Linked DNA regions of Homo sapiens: region 2 is linked to region 1. Evidence: promoter capture Hi-C in 16 types of primary human blood cells and fetal thymus (Javierre and others, 2016). All regions are on one chromosome and are shown on one strand. Each heading gives the region's core, a stretch centred on a gene start or on the middle of the fragment in contact. The rest is flanking DNA. Distances are from core to core; before and after follow the strand shown. Region 1 holds the start of KLF14 (KLF transcription factor 14). Region 2 overlaps TMEM209 (transmembrane protein 209).

The links. Contacts are between HindIII fragments. The CHiCAGO score rates a contact against its expected background, and 5 or more counts as called.
Region 2: a fragment that was not itself captured here is called in contact with the fragment with the promoter of KLF14 in region 1 in 9 of 17 cell types (endothelial precursors, megakaryocytes, erythroblasts and 6 more); the score reaches 8.9 in endothelial precursors.

The regions. Positions count from the first base shown.
Region 1 is chr7:130,730,159-130,736,959 of GRCh38, reverse strand. KLF14 (KLF transcription factor 14) reads left to right here and starts at 2,753. Exons shown (of 1, transcript NM_138693.4): 1 at 2,753-6,263. The coding sequence starts at 2,927. The coding sequence ends at 3,898. LOC105375508 (a long non-coding RNA gene) reads right to left here and starts at 2,696. Exons shown (of 4, transcript XR_927978.3): 1 at 2,578-2,696; 2 at 1-39. RefSeq lists silencers at 2,940-3,019, 3,090-3,249 and an enhancer at 3,145-3,682. The HindIII fragment of the contact is 4,510 bases long and covers 1,701-6,210 here.
Region 2 is chr7:130,187,633-130,194,433 of GRCh38, reverse strand. TMEM209 (transmembrane protein 209) reads left to right here. Exons shown (of 15, transcript NM_032842.4): 6 at 1,611-1,812. LOC124901745 (a long non-coding RNA gene) reads right to left here and starts at 2,354. Exons shown (of 3, transcript XR_007060522.1): 1 at 2,122-2,354. The HindIII fragment of the contact is 4,523 bases long and covers 2,040-6,562 here.

The DNA.
Region 1 (6,801 bases), core at 1,504-4,003:
CAGGTATGGAGAGGTTTCTTTAATAATCCACAAATGACACTATAAAGAAAGAGATCAATGAATATGAGTACATTTTAAATTGTCTATAGTACAAAAGACATCAAAAGCAGTTAAAAGACAAGCCACAGACTGAGACAATATATTTAATGTTTACACGCATGAATTCCTACAAATCAGGAGGAAAAAAGATAAAACATACACGATCTACTGAAAAAAATGAATGAAGACTGTGAAAAAACAAATCACAGACTTGGAAACCTCAATAACCAACAAACATATGGGGAAAAAATGCTTAACTTTGCTAGCAGTGAGGGAAATTCAAATAAGACAACAAGATACTGTTTTTTAAAATAATCAAATTGGCAGGAATAATAAAAATCTTAATCTAGAAAGTGTTGAAGATCATGTGAGGGAAACGTGAACTGTCACACACTTCTGATGGGTGTGCAAATTGAAGCATTTGGCAGTCTCTCGCAAAACTGAAAATGTGTGTGGAGCCCGGCAATTCCCCATCTAGGTAGATACATAGAGAAATTCTCACATATGTGCAAAGGAAACATGTACAAGTAGTACCAAAATATTGGCAGCAGTTTAATATTCATCAATAGGGGAATGAATAAACAGGACACATTTGTATGCATGGATCCACACTATAGCAATTAAAATGAATGAATTGGATCTATATTTATCAACACGAAGAGAAAAAATAAAAACATACCATGAATGAAAAAAATAAGTCCAAGAATAATATGCACAGCCTAATACCATGTTTGTACATTTAAAAAAATCATATAAACCAATATTCTGCATTTTATAGGTTCACATCCAGTTAAATTGTAAAACCCAGACTGGAAAGTTACATACCAAATTCATGTTAGTGTTTGCCTTTGGGGAAAAGGGTGGAGAATGGTATTGGGGGCAGTACAAGGGGACCTTCAATTTTATCAGAAATGTTGAATACTTAATAGATCTGAGGGAGATATAACAAAATGTTAACATATTCATTATATGAGACAGGTATATGGGTGCTTGTAATGTTCTCTCTGCATTTTAAATATCTTCACATTTTTTCTAAATAATAAAATTAAAACAGCTAGTAAATTATTCTATCTGATAGATTTTAATGTGTAGATTAACGAAGAGTTAATCGTCTAGAGGAACTTCAGAAAAATTAACTGTTTTGCAATGGAATCGCCTTAAAAATAATAACACTGACAATATTATTTAAAAACTGCTGAAATGAATAAAGTAGATTCTATAGGTGTCAACCTGGATAGCTGTCAAAATCATATTGAGGGAAAGAAGTTGCAAAATGATATGTATACTAGTGAACCATTTACTTAAAAATTTTAATAAATAAGCATGGAGATATACATATATTTACATGTATAATTAGGTAATACGGGTATCAAAACAAATGCAGATTAAATAGCCACTTTATAATACTAATTACCTAGAAAAGTGAAGAGGGAGAAAGGTGAATGGAACTGGGGAGGGAAACAAAGTGACATTCAACTCTATCTGTAATGTTTAATATAAATAAAAACATGAAACAACTATAACAAAAATTTCACATTTGATTACCCTAGGCAGTAAATACATGAACGTATGTTATTCTTGATACATACGTATTAATTTTCAAAAGAAAAAGTACTGAAGAACTACAAATAAAATGCACACAATTCACTCATATAAAAGCTTGTATACATCAAAAACTAAGATATGACTATTTTTAGAAATTATCCTGTTTGTTTTTCTATGTAGTTTTACATTTTTAAAAAGAAAAACGAGGGAAAAAATGAGAGCAATGAAGACACGTAAAAGAAACCGTACATGCATTTGATTATAAAAAAGGCAAACCTCCACAATCACAAAACACCATATGAGCATTCTATATCATGTGCTGCATTTCCTTACATTTAACTTTCGTCAAAAGCAAATTACAAGATAATGCCTAATTGGAAACGTGACTTTCTATTATTAAAATGGTGGGAGTCCATTTTAATGTGTTTATCTCGCCGCTAGACTATAATTTATATCTCAGCGTTTAAATTTGTTTGGATGCCAGTGACAGGTTAATGCAGTTTAAACATGCATTTTTCTTTCGTTGGCTGAATAGTTAAATCGTTACTCAAAGGATTTTAAGTTTCAATTTCAACCGGGAGAGGATTCTTTGCTTTTCCAAGGTTAAAACTGTTTCTGGTTCGAGATGCTATTAATTAATGGCTACGTAGCGGATCTATTTAGGGAACTGCTCCCGGCCCCGGGTTCACAGTTGACCTGCTCAATGAGAAAACTTTTTTTGCTACAGACTTGGGGATATTTGCAATTTAGTCTGAGAGCGGCGAACGGGGAGTGAAATGGAATTCGAGACCACTTCGCTAACAATCGCAATTATGAACCGAAAGACATGTCAGGTATTAGCAATTTTTTTCCTTAAAAAAAAAAAAAACTTTCTGGGACTCCGCGGGACACCCAGCTGGCGACGGACCAGCGGGCGGCGGGCTGCGGGGAGGGGGGGCGAGGCTGCTGCAACCCAGAAGTTCCGACTGGGGAGTTTCGCTCTGTTACCATTACCTGGCTCGCCGGCAGAAGAAAGAACGCGGAGACAAGATAATTTCTGAGGCTGTTAAACATGACTTAGCCGGGGGCCGCGCGTTCCGAGGGGGTGTCCTGCGGGCCGGGGCGGGTCTCTGCCGCCCCCGCGGGCTCCGGTGCGTCAGGGGCGCGTCAGGCGGGGCGGGCTCCGCGCGGGCGGCGGCGGCAGCGGCGGCTGCGGCGGCGGCGGCGGCAGCAGGCGGCAGGCGGCGAGCACCCGGCCTCCTGCTTCTCGCTCCGAGGCTGCGGGACGGACGCTCCCGGGAACTCCGTCGCCCGCGGCCGGCCGCGTTCGGACGGCGCTCGCCGGCGGCCGGGCGGTCCCAGCATGTCGGCCGCCGTGGCGTGCCTGGACTACTTCGCCGCCGAGTGCCTGGTGTCCATGTCCGCGGGCGCCGTGGTTCACCGCCGCCCGCCGGACCCCGAGGGCGCGGGTGGAGCCGCTGGCTCGGAGGTGGGTGCGGCGCCGCCGGAGTCCGCTCTGCCGGGTCCGGGGCCACCGGGGCCCGCGTCGGTCCCCCAGCTCCCGCAGGTCCCCGCCCCCAGCCCCGGCGCGGGCGGCGCCGCGCCCCACCTGCTGGCTGCAAGCGTCTGGGCGGACTTGCGCGGCAGCTCTGGCGAGGGCTCCTGGGAGAACTCGGGGGAAGCTCCACGCGCCTCGTCCGGCTTCTCCGACCCGATCCCGTGCTCCGTCCAGACCCCGTGCTCCGAGCTGGCTCCCGCCTCCGGCGCCGCGGCGGTCTGCGCTCCCGAGAGCTCCTCCGATGCGCCCGCCGTCCCAAGCGCGCCTGCTGCCCCGGGCGCACCAGCAGCCTCTGGTGGGTTCTCTGGAGGGGCCCTAGGGGCAGGCCCCGCCCCCGCCGCGGATCAGGCGCCCCGGAGGAGGTCTGTCACACCTGCTGCCAAGCGCCACCAATGCCCCTTCCCGGGCTGCACCAAAGCCTATTACAAGTCGTCGCACCTCAAGTCCCACCAGCGCACCCACACGGGTGAGCGCCCTTTCTCCTGCGACTGGCTCGACTGCGACAAGAAGTTTACGCGTTCCGACGAGCTGGCCCGCCACTACAGGACGCACACGGGCGAGAAGCGCTTCTCCTGCCCCCTCTGCCCCAAGCAGTTCTCCCGGAGCGACCACCTGACCAAGCATGCTCGCCGCCACCCAACCTATCATCCAGATATGATCGAGTACCGGGGACGTCGTCGAACTCCCCGCATCGACCCGCCACTCACCAGCGAGGTGGAAAGCTCCGCCTCCGGCTCCGGTCCCGGCCCGGCGCCCAGCTTCACCACCTGCCTGTAGGACAGTCATTGCTGTCAGTCTTACCCTCAAGGATGATCCCCCAGGCCGTTGTCCCTGCTTTCTCTCTGCCCATCCTTCTTTCCCAGAGTCATTACACCAAGGCACAGACTGGTTCCTCTGCTCTGAGGGTGGGTCCAGGCAGACATGTGGACTCTGGGGAGGTACTGGGGGCCGGAAAATAGCGGGAATTCTTGCAACGTGTATATCATCCTAAAAGTGGGGGTTGCCTCAAGACAGCCCCCAGGAACTGATAAGAAGGGATGAACTCCCGTACTCTCCAGAGTACTGAAGATTCTCCCCTCCCTGGAACCAGGGATGTGAAACTGGAATTCTCAGATGCCTGAGGAGCTCCCAGTCTCAAAGGACTCTGGTGTCTCACCCATCCACCAGGGCGGACCTTGGAGAGGGTGTCAGGGGTGGCAGTCTTGGAAATGTCCAGGACTGGGATGGTGAGAGGCCTTTGGAAACAGAAATGATTTCTATTTCTGTAAACAGCAATGTTTACTAATTTATTTTTAGCATCTTTTAAATAGGGATCCCAGGTTGATGGGAGGCTTATGCCCTCCAATCCCCCAATTGCCCCAGCTACCTCTGCTAGGAGAGGCCACATAAGCTCCATGTAGATGTGTGGCTGGGAGATACTTCTTGATGTCTGGGGTGTGAGTCTGTTTGCAGGTCCTGTTGCATGATTTGGAACCCTGCGCTTGCGTCGTAGCCCTTCTCCCCATTTGGATTCCTACTTGAGGATGGTAACTTCCTGGCTCACTCTCACGCTGAGATTGGTTAAACAATTTGAAAACTACCGTAAAGGCACCAGCAAGAAAAGGGTGGTCCAGACTAGTTCCCCCTTCACTCAGAGAGAAAACTCAAGCGACCTTAAGTTTGGGCGGGGCCCGAAACAAGACCGCTCATAACCATTGATAACTTTCAGGGAAATAGAGGCGTGTGGACACAGCTGCCCCACCTTATGTAATCTCAGGAGTGGTAGATTCTGTTAATTTCCTAATGGCTAACTAGGGGGTTATTTCCCTCAGAGTCTGCAGATTTTCGTTTCTGAAACAGGTGAGTTGGTGGGTGGGAGAGGGAAGGGTAACAGACTGGTTTCTTCCAAGGAGCTGGCTGCCTTGGATTTGAGGAAGGAGTAGCAAGGTGATAGCTATTATGAAATAGGAGGAACTTTCTCCTCTGACCATATAGTCCCTCCAAGTTATATCCTCAGGGCCCCTTTCCCGATAAGAAGGAATCAGACATCAACAGTATTTGTTTTTTCTATATGTGTCTCTGCTGCTGTGGATGAAATCACTGACCACTCTGCTTGTGTATGTATGAATGTGTATATATGTGACCCTTTCTTTAGAGATGAGGCTGAAAGGCATTTCCTGCCCTGGGAGATCCCCTCTGGCCCCCTCCTGAATATTTTGCAATAGTCCATCACTGACACTTGGGGAAGATGCTGTAATCTCATAGGACCCTAACGGGCATCTGGTTAAACAAATTGCTTTCCCCTATTTTGCAGATGAGGATACTGAAGACTAGATAAGCTCAAAGTCATATGCTAGGTTGCTGGGAAGAGCCATGACTAGAACTTAGGTGTCTGGCCTGCTAAGTGACTCTTTCCCTCACACTTGATTACCCCCATCTCTTCCTCCTCTCTGGGATCTTAGTCCCTCCCTCGCTCCCTATTCTGTATTGCTTCTGTGTACCTTCACATGTTGATTGAACCCTTTGCCTATTGTGTTTGACCCAAAAGCCCTTTTCTTAACTGGTTACGTTCCCTCCCTTCACACCATGTGGACATAAAGTGAGAATGACTTTTTGGCATCCTAGGAGAGACTTTCTCTTTGGACCTGCTAGGTTAATTTTCAGTGTGAATTCCCTTCTTTTTCTGGTCCTGGGCATTCCAGCATCCTCAAGAGAGTGAATGATACAAACATGACATTGGGACTGTACTAAGTGCTCCTACACTAAGTGAGGGAGGGGTCCTTAGAAAGGACCAAAAGAGTATGGCCTATGACCCTGAAGAGGTTCAGTATTTCCTAATGAAGGCTAAGCAGGGAAGGTGGGGCTGTTGAGTTACATGTGGGAGGAGAAGGCCCCCCACTGTGAAAGTGATTTTTGGTAGTGGAAGGAGTCTTCTCTTTGCTCTGTTTGTCTCTTCAGCTAGGGCTGGATAGCTAGGGCATTGGGGGTCCTATTGAAGACTACTGTTTCCTCTTTGTCCTTTTCAGTTGAAGATCTGCCATTGGGTAAGTGGACCAAGGAAGCCAACAGGAATTTCCACTAACCATTCTGAAATTGGTTTCAAGAAAGCTTGGCTTTTCCAATCACCTGTTGATAAATAACTTTTGATTCTCAAGCTCCCAAATAGTGTCCTTATTTGGGTTCTTGTACACTAGGGACTTTTATCTGGAGATGGCCTCTGACAATCTCAATGTGACATGTCTTTCATTGGTAAAACTGACTCCTCCCAGGTCTTGAGGTGGTGGGGAAGGAGATACTCAGCACATACATGGGAGTAGCCAGATAAAGGTTTTTAGGTAGGTCTTTCTTAGTCTGAGTATTGTTGTTACCTTTTTCACTCCAGCAACCAGAGAGTTCTCAAGGAGTAGTTAGTGAAATGCCATGAAAAAGGCTTCCTAATTTTATTGGTGTTTCTTTGGTTTCTTTTTGTTAATCAGATGTACTCACTCAATGAGTGAGTACATATGGGGGTTGGTTGGGGTCAGACTGAACCTCTGAGCCATTGCCCCATCCCTGCCATCCACAGTTCGGATGTAGGAATGACCTAGTAGCAGAAACTATTCATACACCTCTTCCTGAAATATGGGTTGGAGGCTGGGAATGAGTTCTAGATCAGACCTTGGTTGTGAGGGAGTTGAATCCCCTGCTTCTGCTGGGAGGAT
Region 2 (6,801 bases), core at 3,052-5,551, 540 kb after region 1:
TTGCTCTTTATCACCCAGGCTGGAATGCAGTGGCACAGTCGTGGCTCACCATAGCCTCTAACTCCTGGGCTCCATGAGTTACCTTTTTTTTTTTTGATGGACTTTATTTTTTAGAGCAGTTTTGAGTTCACAGCAAAATCAAGAGATCTCATGTACATCCCCTGTCCTAACATGCATAGCCTCCCCCATGATCAGTATACCCCCTCACAGTGGTATATTTCTTTTTTTTTTTTTTGAGACGGAGTCTCGCTCTGTCACCCAGGCTGGAGTGCGGTGGTGCAATCTCGGCTCACTGCAAGCTCCGCCTCCCGGATTCCTGCCATTCTCCTGCCTCAGCCTCCCGAGTAGCTGGGACTACAGGTGCCCGCCACCACACCCAGCTAATTTTTTTGTACTTTTAGTAGAGACGGGGTTTCACCATGTTAGCCAGGATGGTCTCGATCTCCTGACCCCGTGATTCGCCCACCTAGACCTCCCAAAGTGCTGGGACTACAAGCGTGAGTCACCGCACCCGGCCTCACAGTGGTTTATTTCTTACAGCTGATGAACCTGCATTGACACGTCATTATCACCCAAAGTGCATAGTTTACATTAGGGTTCACTCTTGGTGTTGTACGTTCTATGGGTTTGGACAAATGTGTAATGACATGTTCACAATTATAGTATCATACAGAATGAAACTGCACCATTTATTCATTCATCTTTTCCTCCAAATTCCTGTTAACCAGTGTTTTTTTTTAATTGCCGCCATAGTTTTGCCTTTTCTAGAACGTCATGTACTTAGAATCATACCCGTGTAGCTTTTCGGATTGGCTTCTTTCACTTAACAATATGCATTTAAGATTGCTTTATGTCTTTTCGTAGCTTGATAGCTCACTTTTTTTTTTTTCTTTTGAGATGGAGTTTCGCTTTTATTGTCCAGGCTGGAGTGCAGTCGCGCGATCTTGGCTCGCCACAACCTCCGCCTCCCGGGGTTTAAGCGATTCTCCTGCCTCAGCCTCCCGAGTAGCTGGGATTATAGGCATGCACCACCACGCCCAGCTAATTTTGTATTTTAAGTAGACACAGGGTTTCTCCATGTTGGTCAGGCTGGTCACCGACCTCAGGTGATCCGCCCACCTCAGCCTCCAAAAGTGCTGGGATTATAGGTGTGAGCCACCGTGCCCAGCAATAGCTCACTTCTTTTTAGTGCTAATACTCCATTACCTAATTTTGCCAGTTTATTTACTCGTTCACCTACTGAAGGGCATCTTGGTTGCTTTCAAGTTTTGGCCATTAGGAATAAAGCTGCCATAAACATACAGGTTTGTGTGTGGCCGTAAGTTTTCAACTCCTTGGGTAATACTAAGGAGCACAATTACTAGTTCGTATGGTAAGATAATATTTACTTTTGTAAGAAACAGCCAGACTGTTTCAAAGTGGCTGTATCATTTTGCATTCCCACCAGCAAAGAATGAGAGATTCTGTTGTTCCACAACCTCATCAGCGTTTGATGTTGTCAGTATTGTGGATTTTCGCCATTCTACTAGGTGTTTTACTTAAGTCAAAAACCAAAACAAAATGAATTTCAATTAAAGAAAAATAAAGTAAAGATCTTTTATTTTGTATAGTTGGCGAGCTTTAGCCCCTCTCCTCCTTCTCCGTACCCTACCACTGTTGGACCAGTGGAGAGCAGTGGATTGAGATCTCGCTACCGTTCTTCACCTACCGTCTACAACTCACCTACTGACAAAGAAGACTACATGACCGACCTACGAACTTTGGATACTTTTCTCAGAAGTGAAGAGGAGAAACAGCATAGGGTTAAGCTGGGTACATATATATTTCTGTATATCTACTATACATATTTTTGGTGTCAATCCTTAACCTACTATTTTCATTATTTTAATATCCATACTAACATACTTTATTAGCTTAGCATGTTTTGTTTTACTTTATATGTAACATTATTTTATGCAGTTAGAATTAAGTTCACTAAATTTAGGAAGTGAAATATAGCTAAACTAAGAAATCTCAAACCTACAATAAGATTGAAAGCTTTTTCGTATAATGTAAGTTACAATTTCTATTTAAAGTTGAGGCTACAAAATAATGTTTTGAAGCAGTGCGTAGTGAACTTACTCAAATTATAGCTGTCTCTTTTCAAGTAGTCTTTTGGAAGGTTGGTGTGGCAGAGCAGGCTGAAAGAGAGAACATGTATTTACTCGAGAAGCGCTGCTGTTTTTCATAACATTTTAAAACTTGCGTTTTAGTATTTCCTGAAAGCCTATAGTTTACCTTGGGAAAGAGTGTTAGCAAATCTTAATCTGTTTGGGGTGAATTTGATTATTACAGAGTCAATTATTTGAAACCAAATTAGGTTATTGAACTGAGTAATGATTTTTCCCCCGTCAGGAACTTTCACGAAAGCATATTAGGCGCTAATACTCAGCTGTGGCGAGGAAGCCGGTTATTGGACCATGACTCTTTGTGTCGCTTGGAGTCTCACCAGTGATTTCTAATTTCATTTTGCCTGAAAGTGCCACAGATGTTACAGAAACCAGTCAATACTATCTTCTTATTTTTGATACATGCTTTTTGAAAAAAATTTGAAATATTTTGAGTCTACTGAAACTTTAATACAGAGTATAATACAAAGAACCTATGTATCCTTGGCACATCTTTGTAATACCCAGATATTTTCTGACTTCACTTTTATTCTTTATCCCAGTAGGAGCTATTTAGAAGTAATATTATTATTGTTTGGAAGTGTTATTGGTGTTGCTTTTAATTTTCAAGCCTGAAAAGGCTTGGTTACCTTTTTTTTCTCCTAAGTTAATTTTACTGTGGTTAGAGAATCTGATCTGTACCTATCAATTTTGTGTTTGTTTGTTTGAGACTTGCTTTTAGGTCTACTATGTGATCACTTTTCTGTAAATGGCTTTGGTATATTGAACAGAATGCAGAGTCTCTAAATTTGGGGCTCTATATTTGTTCACTGTCACACTTCTTGATGGTATTCTTAAATACTTTATCTTACTAATTTTTATCTGCTTTATCTATTGGTTATTAAGAAAGTGTGCCAAAAGCTCCCGTTGATTGTCTTCCATTAAATGTTTTCTTGCAATTCTGTCAGATTTGCTAAGTATACATACGAGATTACGTTAAATGCATGTAAATTCAGAATTGTGAATATCATTCTGGTGAATTATGCCACTTATCTTTATCTCTTAGGCTTTTTGCCTTAAAGTCTATTTTGTCTGACATTGACACATCTATATTAATTTCCTTTTGGTTAGTATCTGGCTGGTATATCTATCTCTATCCCTATACTTTTAGCCCTTCTATACCCATGGGTTTTCGAAAATTAAGTATTTTGTGCAAATTAATAAATGATTAATAAGTATTTTGTGGGAAGCTACTGATCTAAAACTATATAGTTATTTGGTCCCCATCAAACTTTTTTTTTTTTTTTGAGACTAGGTCTCACTGTTGCAGTGGTGCAGTCTTGGCTCGCTGCAGCCTTGAATTCAGCGCTCAGGTGCCTCTCCCACCTCAGCCTCCTGAGTAGCTGGGACTACAGATGCATGCCACCATGCCATGCTAATTTTTGTGTTTTTAGTAGAGACCGGGTTTTGCCATGTTGCCCAGGCTGGTCTCGAACTCCTGAGCTCACACAATCCACCCACTTTGGCCTCCAAAAGTGCTGGGATTATAGGCGTAAGCCATTGTGCCTGACCCCATCAAACTTTGACTTACTAGTTCTAACATCCTTTTAAGATTATTTTCAAAATTATTACTATGTTGGTTGTCATGGAGCTTTCCAATTTCATCATTTCTTCTATGTTTATTCCTTTAACATTTTTCCTTTTTTTTTTTTACTGTAATACAGTATACATAAAATTTACAATATTAGCCTTTTTTTTTTCTTTTTTTGAGATGGAGTCTTGGCTCTGTCGCCCAGGCTGGAGTGCAGTGGTGCGATCTCGGCTTACTGCAACTTCTGCCTCCCAGGTTCAAGCGATTCTCCTGCCTCAGCTTTCCAAGTAGCTAGGATTACAGGCATCTGCCACCATGCCTGGCTAATTTTTGTATTTTTAGTAGAGACAGGGTTTCCCCTTGTTGGCCAGGCTGGTCTCAAACTCCTGACCTCAGGTGATCTGCCCGCCTCGGCCTCCAAAGTGCTGGGAATTACAGCCGTGAGCCACCGCGCCTGGCCCAATATTAGCCATTTGAAGTGTTTAATTAAGTGGTGGTAAGTACATTTACATTATTGTGCAGCTGCCTTTTACATTTATTTGTTGGTATTCTGTAAGATAAAGGTTTCTTCTCCCTAATCATTCACTTATGTTGACGATTTGATTGTCTCAGATTGGGCTAGTGGGATCCTCTGTAAGCTGACTTCTCTGTTCTTTTGACATGACACTATCATTCTTTGAGCTAATCCCCCTGCCCGCGCCACCTTTCTAGCACCACAAAATAGGTCAGGCTCATTTTGTGTTTTCCCTGGCTAGCTCCAGAGTCAGTCTGTTTCTCTAAGAGCCCTGATTCCTTTTAATGGAGAATGATACTTAGAAATTATTATCTGGGCACTGGGCACACTGTTATTATTGAGGTATCATTACTCCAGGTCCTCTAGGAAATATTTGTATGGACATATACACAGATATATGTACACACACACATCTATATGTGTTATTCTATGTTTTTAAAAAACCATGAGTTTATAATGTTACTTCTAGTTCCAGTCCAGCTATACAGTTTATTCTGTCCTCCCCACTTTTCGTATTTGTAACTTTCTCCAGTAGTGAAAAACCAGGCCCTCATATTCTCTCTCTCATGCACACTTTTTTGCTGAATCATTTGAAAGGAAGTTGCGGGCATCATTCCACTTCATTCCTGAATATTTCACATGCATCTCCTAAGACCAAGACATCTTCCTTTATAACTACAATATGGGCTGGGCTCAGTGGCTCACGCTTGTAATCCCAGCACTTTGGGAGGCTGAGGCAGGTGGATCATGAGGTCAGGATTTTGAGACCAGGTCAGGATTTTCTGACCAACATGGTGAAACCCCACCTCTACTAAAAAATTAGCGAGGCTTGGTGACGCGAGCCTGTATCCCAGCCACTCTGGAGGCTGGGGCAGGAGAATCGCTTGAATCCGGGAGGCGGAGGTTGCAGTGAACCGAGATCACACCACTGCACTCCAGCCTGGGTGACAGAGTGAGACTCTGTCTCAAAGAAAAAATAAATAAATGAATAATGACAATATGATTGTCATGCTTAAGATACTATGGGTGTTCATATTCACATTTCCCCAGTTGACCCAATACTGACCCTTGTAGTGCTTTTTTTTTCTTTTATTGATGCAGGATCCAATCAGGTATCACATATTGCATTTACTTGTGCTTCTGTTGTCTCCTTAAATCGAAACCATTTGGATAGTGTGGGTTTTGTGGGATTTTTTGTTTTGTTTTCTTTTATGACATTTACATTTTGAAGAGATGAGGCTGTTGTTTTGAAAATTCAGATTTGTTTGATCATTTTGTTACTGTTAGATTCCGTTTAAATATTATTTTCTGGCAAGAATACAACATGGGTGGTGGCATGTCCTTTTCAGTGTATCACATCAGGAGATACGTGATGCTGCTTTGTCTCTTTGTCGGTAATATATAATAAAATAGGATCACTTGGTTAAGTTGATAGCAACTGGATTTCTTCATGATTTTCCCTTTATGTCCTGTTTCCTTAACAGCCTTTTACCCAGTGATTTTAGCATCTGTTGATGATCCTTGTCCTTGATAAAGTGGTGATTATAAAGTAGAGATTTTCTTTTTTTTTTTTTTTTTTTTTTTTTGATACGGAGTCTCACTCTGTCACCCCGGCTGGAGTGCAGTGGTGTGATCTCGGCTCGCTGCAAGCTCCGCCTCCCGGGTTCATGCCATTCTCCTGCTTCAGCCTCCCGAGTAGCTGGGACTACAGGTGCCTGCCACCACGCCTGGCTAATTTTTTGTATTTTTAGTAGAGACGGGGTTTCACCATGTTAGCCAGGATGGTCTCGATCTCCTGACCTTGTGATCCGCCCGCCTTGGCCTCCCAAAGTGCTGGGATTACAAGTGTGAGTCACTGCGCCTGGCCAAAGTGGAGATTTTCTAATTATTTATTTCTACACTTCATAGTTTGGCATTCTTCTCTAAAGAGGAGCATTCTGTTTTACCCCCACCCCAGCTTTTTTGGTTTAGTCACTGTGGACTCATCAGCTCTTTCTTTAGTAATGTCTAAACTGTTATTTAACTAATTCATTGAGTTTTTTAATTTCAGCCACTTGTTCTCATTTTATAGTTTTATTTGGTCCTTTTCAATTATGCCAGGTTTTTGTAGAATATTTTTTATTCTTATGTTTTCAGTTCCTTTTTCTATCTCAGTTGCTTAAACACACTTTTTAAATGTTATTTGTCCAATAGTTCAATTATCTAAAGTTCTTGGAGGTTAAATACTGACCATTTTTGTCTTGTTGGTTGTTAGGACTGCAGTCTTGTTTCCTTGTGATTGATGTAATTTCTGTTTGTTTCTGGTAAGCTTATCTTGGCTGGATGGAAGCCTTGTCTCTTCCTAGCTGTTTTGTATTTGCCTCTGTCAGGTGCCTTAGGAGTATTATTGACTTTGAGCTAACTTAAGTAATTTCTAAGCTTGGAGATTCCTGGACCTCACAGGTAATATAAATGGGCACTCTAAACCCATGTGAAGATATATCTATAATTTTTAAATCTCAGGGTGTTGTTTTTCTTTTTTTTTTTTTTTAAGTCTCCCAACAACCTAT